Regions from separate parts of the Homo sapiens genome. Here all the other regions are linked to region 2. Evidence: promoter capture Hi-C in human tissues and cell types (Jung and others, 2019). All regions are on one chromosome and are shown on one strand. Each heading gives the region's core, a stretch centred on a gene start or on the middle of the fragment in contact. The rest is flanking DNA. Distances are from core to core; before and after follow the strand shown. Region 1 overlaps MAST4 (microtubule associated serine/threonine kinase family member 4). Region 2 holds the start of CD180 (CD180 molecule). Region 3 overlaps MAST4 (microtubule associated serine/threonine kinase family member 4). Region 4 overlaps MAST4 (microtubule associated serine/threonine kinase family member 4).

Region 1 (3,019 bases), core at 503-3,002, 360 kb before region 2:
CTTAAAAATATGTATTGTAGTTAACGTTGAGAACGTATTTTCTTTTTCTTCATCATTATCATCTAAAATAACATGAAAATGTACTAAAATGTTAATATTCATTATATCTTAGTGGGATATAAATTTTTCTTTGAACCATCCAACAGTAAGCATGTTTTACTTTATAATTAGTTAAATAAGTGGGTTTTGGGTGCCTGTTTTTAACTTTGCTTTCCTTCATTGTCTAAGAAAAGCCTTTATGTAGTATTTAGCACCATCAATGAAAGGTCCTTCAAGGCTCTTTTCTATTTTGTGCTGTCTTTTGGAATTAAGCAAGATAAATCAACTTTAATTTGGTGCATGTCTCTAACCCTTAGGACGTGGTTCACCTGTAGCTGGCTGCCCTATTGAACCACCTGGAAAGCTTCCTAAAGCCTATAGTCTAGATACAATCACAGCAATTCAATTAGCATCTCTCAGTGGTGTGCAGCCAGAGTTGAAACCCACTGCTCTTAGGGGACTAGGGGTCCAGGTAACTCCCAGATCATCAAACCTACAACTTCTCAATATCCAAATGTAAGGTTTGACAGCCTTTAAAATGTATGTCAGTGCTTTGGTCTCCTTTCTATCAAGTCTCAAGTGAGACTTGATTTTATATATATATATATATATATATATATATATTTTTTTTTTTTTTTTTTTTTTTAATGTGGAGGTGTTTGGAAGGTGGATATACTCACCATATTTGTTTGTTGAGCTTCCAAATAACAACAATGATAGTAACATGAGAGCTCAAACCATTAACCAATCTGCCTTGGGGGGCAATTATCATAGTGGGGTAGCTGGAGGCAGCTCTAGACCATTACCTCTAAGGGACCCATGGCACTGGTAGTGTCCAGGTGCAGTTTTATGTTTTTAAAATTGCTGGACATGCTCCATGGTTTCCATTAGAAAACCACCTCCAGGGCATGATGAGACAGTTGCTTTGTCCCTTAAAATGTTTTCCTAATGCTAGAGACAATAATGCCTGTGATTTGGAAACCTTTATCTTAGATACTCTTCAATAATGTACATGTTTGAGCTCTCAAAACATTGGCTATTTTATTTAGATTGTGAATGTATGTGCTTTTTTGATGAGGCAGTCAAGGACAGAACCCCATTCTTTGCTTTTCTTTCAATAAATGTTTAATGATAATAATAGCATATATTGAACTGTTTGTGTCAGAGAACTGTGTGCTGTGTCTTAAACTTACCCTATTGTACTTTTATCTTAGACTCTAGCAGTACAAAAATGAGTGGAATATGACACTGACCTGTGAAGGGTTTCTGTTATGGTAGGTGAGACAGACAACAGTTTCTGAAATAGCAAATGCTACAACTATCATCAGTCAAGATACAGGGGCCTTGAGCATGGTGCCCTGCTCTGCGGAAGGAAGCCGGGAAGCCTTCATGGAGGTGGAGATATTTCTGCCGGATGGTGAAGGATGAACAGGTACTGATTAGGCAAGATGAGGATTCTAGGCGGAGGAAGCAACAGTGTGTGCAAGGTGTGGTGGCTGAACAGGGTGCATCTTTTTCAAGGAATTGCAAATAGTGCATGTGGGAAGCAGGAAGTGTTTAGCAGAGTCTCAAGAATGATGCTGTCTGTGTTCAGGGATTTGGGCCTCATAGTCTAGCAATAGGAAGCCATTGAAAGACTGTAATCAGGGCATAGAAATATTTTATCAACTGTGAACTATTCTGTCAACTATTAATGAAGAATGCTTAGGAAGAGGCCAAGAAAAGAAGTAAGATAAACAGCTAGGAATTTAGAAATGAGGAGGTGGTAGATGATGCTGCTGGACCGAGGTGGTGACAGTGAAATGGAGAAAGGCAACTGAAGGTAGAATTAACAGGACATGGTGACCTGTTGATGGTTGGCAAAAGAGAGATGGAAGAAGCTTGAGGTGACCTTATGGTTTCAGGAGTTAGGGATTAGAAACAAGAGCAAGAGATAAATGTGACTTGGATGCTGAGAAGAGAATTAGTTCGTTCTGTGAATCTTGAGTTTGAAGTACCTGTGGAAGCCATCTAGGTGCAGATGTTCAGTAAGCAGTTGGATATGTAGTTTTAAACTTCTAAAGAGAGCTCAAGCCTGGAGAGAGACTGTAAAGTTACCAACTATAATAATTAATTGAACTAGACTGTGAATAAAGAGAAAATGCAATTTCTCCCAGACTCATAGATTTCTGTTAGAATGGTTTTCCAGAATTGTACCATAATGTGTATTTTAACACTTATTTTGCAGGAATGGTTAAAATTACATGGTGCACAAAGTAGTTCTGTGGTTTAGTATCAGGCCTTGAAAATAATATGTCCAGCTTTGAAGATGTGTAGGTTTTTTTTTTCCCCAAATTGCTTCCAACTTTGACAACTTGCCTACAAGTCTCATTCCAATACAGTTTTTGAAAGGCAGAATGAAACATCTCAAACTAGAGGCTGTAATGGAAAAAGCAATTTATTTTTAAATGAAGATGATGAGGTTGGTGTACTGTATTACTTGAACAGTGAGTGAATTTAAAAGAGTGAGATTACATCAAATTCAGCCAAGATTTTTGTTCCATTTGAATGGAGTATCTGTAATTGAAGATGGGTGTTCAACTAAGAAAAACACATGACATGTACATTTTTATCAGTTTTCTTGCACTCTGTTTCCAGTTTCTTTGTGCATGTGTGTGTGTGTGTGTTCACAAAGCCATTGCATCATATTGACAATTTTTTTTTTTAAACTGACGCGTTCTTGGGCAACAAATGAGAATACAAGCTTAATTTTACTAGCTTCACTTTTTTTTTGAGCTTTGGCCTAGTAGTTTAGTATGTTGAGAATATGCACTCCTCAGGAAAGTGGTAGGAAGTCAGACGTAGAATCTGTAACAACTAGCTCAAAATGATGAGAGAAAACATTAAATATTTTCTAATTGGAAATTTTAAAATGAAAATTTTTTAGCTTTGTGCTAAAATTTAGAAGCTAGGTCTAGAAATATTTCATTTTATATTTTTA
Region 2 (2,910 bases), core at 183-2,682:
CCACCATGCCCAGCTAATATTTGTATTTTTAGTACAGATGGGGTTTTGCCATGTTGCCCAGACTGGTCTCGAACTCCCAGTCTCAAGGCATACACCCACCTTGGCCTCCCAAAGTGCTGGGATTATAGGCGTGAGCCACCACGCCTGGCCCAGTCTGTGGCATTTGTTATGACAGCCCAAGCAAAGCAACACACACCTTCCCAGCCTTCATTTCTCATTGGCATGATGCCTCCTCTTGGCCTGCTGCTGATTCCATCCTAATGCCAGACCAACAAGGCTCTGCTCACCCAGCTCTGAGCCTTACCCCAGTGCTGGCTTTGCTCTGCTCTTCCTGATCCTCTGATCTCCTTCTAGTCCTGCCCCAGGGCAACTCCACATCTGGCTATTCCTGGCTCTTACTCTTCTTTTTACCTCAACCCAGACCAGCAGCTCACCAAGCCACCAAGACTCATGGTTCCTCCTGTATGCAGCCCTTGTCTGACAGGCCACGTGGTATTGATCACTTGTGGGGTCAGAGAAAGTGGGAGGAAGTTTGAAGCATTTTAGAGGATGGCAAGAGACGGAGGCCCTTCTCCTTTTTCTCTCATTATCCCCTCCAAGAACTTCCCACAGGTTGATAAATATTGCTATGGTCCAAAACAGAAGGTGCAATTTGGCTCTATTCTCAGATTTTCCTCCTATGGGTTAGTAAAACAGATGGAAGGCTGTCCAAGTCCAAGAGAGAGCCAGACTCATTCAGAGTGATCTTTTCAATGCTCGAAAACCTGGCACAGCGCTGTCTTTACTAATTCTCACCCTGAGAGGAGACCAAAGGACTCATTGGGATAGAGGCCATGTGAGAGTGGGGATGTTAAACCAACAGCTCCCCTAGGTTGAGGCAGGTTTAGGGGTCTGCTTTGTGCACACAGACCCTATTAATATCTTATGACCCACTTGGGATTATTTGGGTGGAATTGTTTGAAGAGGAGAAAAATTCTCTTTGCTTCCTATTAAGATGCCACCAGATGATCCCCTGGCAGAGTTCTTTGGCTCCTTTCTCACAATAATGAAAAAATTATATATACACCTTATTTCCTTTTTAAAGACACTAGATATTGGGATGCCAAGGCTCAGATTGGACTGCGTGCTAAATCTCAAAATTTTCAGACAGTTTAATCTGCATAAAGACAAACAGTTTGGACTCACCTCAATGCACATCTGATCCCAGGAGGTGATGACTTTACAGCCGGCAGAAAACAGCACCACCCAAAAGAAGCAGCTGACGTCAAACGCCATCACAGGCTAGGATTGCTTGGTGGGTTTACCTAATGCTTGGAGCTGAGAAATGGAATCAAACTGTGAAGGCCCTGGCAATTTGGCAGCCAGAGAGGTACTCAGAAGGGTGATCTTGGAACAAGAAATGCTGTTGACTGCTCAGCATTCTGTGGCTCTGTGCTGGAAAAAAAAAAAAAAAAAAAAAAGGAAGTCCCTTTTGCATACCACCCATCTTTGCCAAAAATAACTGAGGACCCAACCCCAGAATGGCCCGTTGCATTTCCTGGCACTGAACATGAATCAGTTGTGCAGTCCTTTTGGGCTGATCACACAGACTCTCATTGTGATGGTTCCAATTGACTTTATGCCAACTTCAAGCATTTGGCCAACTCCAACAGCTTCTGGTCCTTTTCCCCGAGAGAGGCTGTGGAAGCTCTACTCACCAAGGAGGCCACTTTCTTAGTTGTCCTAGGTGAGTGAATAGAAGAGGTGTCAGAGAACATGGAAGGGCAGAGCACTCTGCAGGGGCAGACTGAAGAACTGAGCCCTTCAGTGGCACCTGCTGAGCTGGGAACTGGAGCAGGAGGGAGCAGGCTTGAGAGTGTATCTGCTCCTTGAGCCTCAGCTGCTGCCTTGGCCACCTTGTCCATCCCCACCTCTGGTCTTCGTATAGGGGGAAGATTACTTCATCTCTTGACCTGGCGGTTCAGGCTTGTTAAAGCAGTTGGGGTGGACTCTCTTGTTCCCTCCTAACCTGGCCTGGGGAAGTAGGGGACACTGCCATAGATAGAGCAGCCTGGCTAAAGGAGAGTAGAGTTAGGGATGCCAGCCTTGGCTCTATTTCTTCTTAGAAATAGCTTTGAAGCAGGATTACAATTACCCTTATTATGGAGCAAGATGTGGCAATGATTAAAGAAAGCCAAAGTTCAAACATTCCTCAATAGGCTGCATTTAGCTACCTGTTCTGTCTGTTCTTCAACCCTCTGGCATACAGGATATATTTGGTGTTACTGTTCTCCCACTCCATTTCCAAGAGCCCAGTTCTTAGTATCAGAGTTCACAATGACTTAACTACTGCTACTACTACTACTACCACCACCACCACCACCACCACCTCTACAGTATTACTATGATGAATCAAATGACTATAGTATCTGCCATTTATTGAGTCCTTACTATGTGTCAGACACTGGGTCAGGTTTAATGCAGTTTTTTGCTGCATTTTCCTATCCTCGAATATTTCCATATATTCTATAAGAGAGATATTATTATTTCCCTCATTTTATAGATGTAGAAACTGATGCTTAAGAGAAATTAAATGATCTCTCCAAGCCACACAATTAGAGAGTGGTAGATTAGGGCTTCAGATCCAGAAAATCTCACTGCAGAGACTATGCTGCTACTCTTCACAGTTTAAGAAAGGACTTTGCCTCCTGAAGGAGCTGAAGAGTAGATGGGGCGAAGAATGTTGTTCATCTGGAGATTTCAGAAAAGATGCTAAAAAGCAGAGGGGATTGGAGGAAATATGTACTTGGCAGTCTGCTAGGCCTGCTACACATATTTGGGCTTTTCCTGGTCACCCTTAAAATGCCATCTTCATCAACAAAATCATCTCTGAAGATGCTATCAGCAAGACACAGTCTAAGCAAACCCAGA
Region 3 (2,771 bases), core at 54-2,553, 260 kb before region 2:
ACCACTTTCTCCTCCAATTACTTAGTAATCCTCCTCTCCTCACAGAAATTCTTTCAGGTTTTGTGGTCTGTATTTTCTTTAGCCATTACTACACTATTTTTAACAAGGGTAGACATATGTTTCTATATTTGCTCTTCTTTTACAGGTTTTTATGTAGTACGTTCATCTACTCATTTTTTTCAACTATTCATTTTTTTCTAGGTAAGTTAGAATCATGGTTGAGGTTCTCCCTTCATGCTGTATTTCCCTAAGGTGCATATTAAAAGTATACATTTTACTTAGGAGAAAGTGTCATCCTGTGGCATCTAATTTTTTCTTCCAGAAACATTTTTTATATTCAGTCTAATGATTCTGGTATTAGTTTCTCTTTCTAAAGTGTTTTCTTTTCCTTGTAGTTAACCCATATTTTTTTATGATTATACCCTTTATTTTAGTTTTGTTTTTATGTTAATAGTTTCTTCTTTTATACCACCTTTTCTTGTTGTCATTGGCAGCAAAACTGGAATTTTATATTTTTCTGTGGGATCCATTCAGGGCACTTAGCTGTTATATTTATATTAATTCTAATAGTTTTTCAGTTGAGTCTGTTTGGTTTTCTAGATACAAAATTATGTACAAATAATGATAATTTTTCACCTTTTTCAATACTTTTACCTCTTTTAGAACTGTCATATTGCCTAGAATCTTATTCCAAATCAGCATTACATAATGATTATGGTAGATGTTTTTTCTTATAATGCTTTTACTGCCTTATTAAGATAAATCTAGACTGTTAGTGTAAAATATGCTCCCTAGTATAAGAAATATTAAAATTTAAAATGCCATATAACTGAAAATTGGTTTTTAGTTACATGGTAATTTTGTCACATAGTGCCTTGTTCATATTTAAGTGAAAGCTTCTTGCTATCCAGAAAGAGAAAATGGCTTCAAGATATGAAAAAATTGCCGGAATTTAATGGACCTGTATCTTTTAATCAGAAGAACACTGTCTAATTGGCTTTACAATGGTAATGATTGTGTTCTATTCATGAGTTTAAAGAGGAGTTGGGCAAAGGTCCACCAGGCTGTCTGTTGAAAACCCAGGGAAAACCTGGGAACAGGGCCGAATCTGAGATACACCAAGTTATACCTGAACCGTAACCAGCCTTTACTCAGCTCAGCCATGACTGCACTAAGGTGATCAATTCTCTATCTGCCTATATGAGGAAGAGTAACACCCTCTTGTAGAAAATAACATCCTTTAGAGCATGTGTTCTCAGTAGGCACAAGATTGGTTCTTCCAGTGTGAAACAAATATTAAATGGTACAGTGATTTGTGGACCTTCAAAAACCCACAACACATAAACAGATACAACTGGCAGGTTGGGGAAATTAGTAACAAAAAGTCTATTAAAGTTCTTTATAGAGATAATAGTGAAAAATAAAGGTTGGGGAACACTGATTTAGAGCCTTTTCAGTTTTTTAGTATAATACCTGATAATTAAAAGTTATAGATATTCTAAAAGACAAAAACATGTGACCAAAAGACAGTAGACAGACAATATAATGTGCATTTGCAATTTTGCTCCAGAGATTGGAGTTAGAACATATGGACTTAAAAATACATAATTAATGTTAACTTATATTAATCAGTTAACAAAATAGGTAAAAGAAAAACAGATGGAAATTTGGAAAATTTCATCAGAGAATTGAAATTTGTGAAGAGAGAAACAAATAGAAAACTGAAAAGCATAGTATCTGAAATTAAGAACTCTCTGGATGGGTTTAAAGTTAATTAAACACAGTGGAAGACAGGATTAGTAAACTGGAAAACAGGTTAATAGAAAATAAACTGAACCAGAGAGGAAATAATATATACACGTATTCCACTTGCAAACTGTTTGCAAAGTACCATCTTTTTCCATATCCTTGCCAAAAATATGTATTTTAACAATGTTTATATTTTGCCAATTTCTGTGTAAAGTGATATCTCATTGTTAATTTAATTTGAATTTCACTAACAACGTTTTACCTTTTCATTGTATTTTGCTAGTTAGTTATTCTTTTCTGAGAAATACCAATTCATATTTTGCCATTATGTATCTGGGGTCATTTGTATCAATTTGTAATTGTTTTCTGAGGTAATCTTTTGTCATTTCTGTTACAGATAAATTTTCTAGATCTATATATAAAACATTTGTGATGAATATACTGTTTTATTTTACAACAAATCTGGATTTATTTGTATACAAGATACCTCAGAGATATTGCTGGGTTTTTGTTTTTTTTTTTCCCCAGACCACTGCCGTAAAGTGACTGCAATAAAACAAATATCACAATAAAGCAGCACACAACTTTTTTGATTTCCCAGTGCATATAAAAGCTATGTGTAAACTATACTGTAGTCTATTAAGTGTGCAATAGCATTCTGTCTACAAAAACAATGTACATTAGCCAGGCTGTGGTGGCTCATACCTGCAGTCCCAGCTACACAGTAGTCTAGGGCAGGAGGATGCCTTGATCCTAGGAGTACGAGGCTGCAGTGAGTTATGATCATGCTCCTACACTCCAGTCTGAGCAACAGAGCAAGACCCTGTCTCATAAATATATATGTATGTGTATATATATGTATATATGTATATGTATGTATATACACACACACATATCTTAATTTAAAAATACTTTATTGCTAAAAAACAAGATCCTGTGAGCCTTCAGCAAGTCATAATCTTTTTGCTGCTGGAGGGTCTTGCCTTGATGTTGATGGCTGTTGATTCATCAGGGTGGTGGTT
Region 4 (3,115 bases), core at 33-2,532, 300 kb before region 2:
GTATATTGAGAGATCTCAAAAACAACAGGATTCTCAGACAAGATTAATTTTATTTAATCTTTATCTTTAATGCAAATATTTGCTAGTTAACACTTAAAAGTCTGGGGGGAGGATACAATATCAAGCAAGTAATGATAAACAGCAACTCTAAAAAATGTTAAATGTCATTGAGTCATCAATATCAATGAAAATCTAGAAATTTTTAATCTTAAGAATTTCTTTAATCCAGTGTCAACAATTAGCATATTGTTTAGTTCAGATGGATACTTCTTGCTGTTTTTTGCTTTTTTCCCTTTTTCTTTCCTCCTCCAATTCTTACGTGACAGTAAATTTTTAACACACACTCCACATATGTCAAGCACAAGCTTGGGTTTATGACCCAGACCAATACCACGTCTTATCTAATTATCTAAGTATGTGTTAGTGACCTTATCCTGACATTAAGAAAATAAAATGAGGACACATACACGAAGTACTGCAGGGACTTTGGCGATAAAATGACTTGATGCCGTTCATTGACGTCTGACAGGTGCAGATTTATCAGCATGTGGCCCTCATCCATTAGGGCAGGAGCTGCTCCCCGCGCAGGCTGCAACCGCTTAGCCCTCCTGGTATTTGCAGACTTTTGCAGCTATTGTTCACAAGGTCTTGGCCACAGCACATTCATTTCTCTCACTTTATTACCATCACATCTGATTCCAATTTGCTACCAAATTGAGTTTCCAGTCCTGAGCCTGACATTCAAGCCATCAGGTGGATTAGCTCCTACAGCTTGGTTAGCGTGGTAGCTTCAGGTCAGTTGACAGTGGCCTATTAAATGTCCTTTGCTCCTCATCTTGGAATCTCGGCTGCCATCCCGTGGAGCAGCAGTGCTGGGTTACCCACTGTAACCTTTCTCCTTGTTTAGAACTCATAATTCTAGACCTACTGGAAAGATTTCTGATTAAAAACAGAGTTGGTTTTTATCCCTTATCTTGCTGTTTCAGCAGCTTTTTCTCAGAGCAAAGCAGCCAGTTTATGCTCAGGTTATTTGGTGGAATATGATTGATGGAACTATTTGGGTCATTCGTTTGGTCCCTTTCCTCTTATATCTTCTGAGTGATCTATTTGCATATATAGTTGAAATAACATCTGATTTATTATTTTGTTGTTATTAATGATAACACCTCAGGTACCTTTTATGCGGCTGTCAGATCAGCTTATTGGACAGAGCAGTATTATTCATTTGGTCTCTAGGCCTTTGCTCTGCACTAGTATCAATGCCTTTCTAGGAGAAATGGCCTGAGTCTGGTACAGTGTGGTGTATTTTGTAATCTCAGCTACTCAGGAGGCTGAGGCAAGAGGATGCTTGAACCCAGGAGTTTGAGATCAGCTTGGGCAATGTAGTGAGACCTCATCCTAAAAATAAATAAAAATTAAAAAATAAAAGATACAGTGTGGTGAGCTATTACTTCTAGGAAGTTCTCTCTTTTTGTTTTCTTTAACCTGAATACAACACTGATTTCTCAATGCTTATGGTAACCAAAGATCCATGTATAGAAAATTACTCATTGGTTTTCTATTTATGTTTCGGTTCCCAAGGAAAACTGTCTTGGTCAGAGACTTTTCTCTTGTCATTAGAGGTTTTAGTAAATGAAGGTATATTTATGTTTCAGAATCAGGGAGCCAAGTTCAGCAAACACTATAATTTCTTGGAGCTAATCAAGGATTAAAGAAAAAAGCAAAGCAAAGCAAAACAAAACAAAAAGCACTTTACCACTGAACCCTAGAGCCCTTGAAAAGAAAAGGTTTTGCTATTGGGTGAAAGAAGACGACACTTCATTCCTAAAATTGCTGATTGTTTTTCTTGCTTTTGAACAGTTATGATTGCTGTAACTCTGTATGGAAATATATTTGCCAGTTAATAAGTAAGTCCTGCTGTGTTTAAAGCAGCAGCCACAGAGCTCTCCTCCCCTCTGGTCTGATGCTCTCACTGCCACTTTCTGTAAGCTGTGCTGGAGTAAGTTGTGCTGTGGAAAAGTGATAGCTGAGCCTGCTGTCCATGACAAACATTGAAATATTCAATAAAAATAAGAGACAGGAAAGGTGAGTTTGAAGCTGATGGGGAAATACCTTTCAAAGGATAGTGCTCAAGCACCTGAAAGGCAGAAAAATAAATGAGAATTATGGGCATGAATAACCAAATTTAGTCATAATGCGCTTCATTTTGAGTTTAAATAGCCAAACGACTCATTGCTTCCTGTTCTTTAATAATTGACAGCAAGTAATTATTCTTGAGCTTTGAAAACTTCATTAGTGGATAAGAGGTATTTCTGAATCTATTTTTGTTTATTTCTTTGGTTGGCTTGTTTTCTTGGGTGGTTTTTTAGTTTTCCACAGCCTCTTGATGATTAGGTAGGTAAGAATCTTAAAATTGAGATAAGTGTGAAGGCACCCTTTTAAAACTATGAAGCACTCTAATAATTGTTGTGGTTGTCTGATTACCTTTTAGAAGTTGATTAAGCTACTTTTAAATATCCCAAGGAATAAATGGATGTTTTGAGAAATAATACCAAAAGGAAATCTTTTCCATTATTATTTTAAAAATAGGAAGTACAATATTTGGTATGCATAATGTTTGCATGAATATATTTCTGTTGAGGGCAAATAGTTTGATTTAATTGTCCTTTACATTGCACCTTTCATTTAATTATAATCCTGCAAAATGTCTCCTACTTCTTATAGTTAAATCCTGTTTGGATAAGTTCTTTGCTTCTTCAGATTTTCCGTATGCTCAGTTGTAGGGCCGTGTAACTCAACTCAGTATTTTACTGTAGTTGCTTTGGGAAGATTGATGGTTTTTCTGCTCTGGAATTCAGATAAGCTGTGTTTGTACCTTAAACACAGTGTGTAAAGAGAACCGTGTAAGAAGGGATCCAGCATAAAATTATGACATTAAAATGTTTTCAGTATAAGAAATGCCAAATCAAGCGTAATGAAGGATGATACATTCTACGTTATCCATTTGGTATCCTAGTAATCTAAGGTTAATGCAGCATTGCTTATATATGGTTTTTTTTTCTTTTGCAGAAGGAGCTGAGTCTCCCCAGAAGAGGAAGTTTGTAAGTAGTAGTAT

The links. Contacts are between HindIII fragments. The study calls those that stand out against the background at their distance.
Region 1: a fragment that was not itself captured here is called in contact with the fragment with the promoter of CD180 in region 2 in 1 of the 25 tissues and cell types used here (dorsolateral prefrontal cortex).
Region 3: a contact is called between a fragment that was not itself captured here and the fragment with the promoter of CD180 in region 2, in 1 of the 25 tissues and cell types used here (hippocampus).
Region 4: a contact is called between a fragment that was not itself captured here and the fragment with the promoter of CD180 in region 2, in 1 of the 25 tissues and cell types used here (dorsolateral prefrontal cortex).

What each region holds. Positions count from the first base shown.
Region 1 is chr5:66,837,233-66,840,251 of GRCh38, forward strand. The region is part of intron 3 of MAST4 (microtubule associated serine/threonine kinase family member 4); the gene reads left to right. Among named protein-coding and RNA genes, the nearest start is that of MAST4-AS1, 170 kb to the right of the region's middle. The HindIII fragment of the contact is 3,103 bases long and covers 202-3,019 here.
Region 2 is chr5:67,195,367-67,198,276 of GRCh38, forward strand. CD180 (CD180 molecule) reads right to left here and starts at 1,433. Exons shown (of 3, transcript NM_005582.3): 1 at 1,186-1,433. The coding sequence starts at 1,275. RefSeq lists an enhancer at 257-406. The HindIII fragment of the contact is 16,000 bases long and covers 1-2,910 here.
Region 3 is chr5:66,937,488-66,940,258 of GRCh38, forward strand. All of the region lies in intron 4 of MAST4 (microtubule associated serine/threonine kinase family member 4), which reads left to right. Among named protein-coding and RNA genes, the nearest start is that of MAST4-AS1, 65 kb to the right of the region's middle. The HindIII fragment of the contact is 6,486 bases long and covers 1-2,771 here.
Region 4 is chr5:66,896,882-66,899,996 of GRCh38, forward strand. MAST4 (microtubule associated serine/threonine kinase family member 4) reads left to right here. Exons shown (of 29, transcript NM_001164664.2): 4 at 3,070-3,101. Among named protein-coding and RNA genes, the nearest start is that of MAST4-AS1, 110 kb to the right of the region's middle. The HindIII fragment of the contact is 3,339 bases long and covers 1-2,952 here.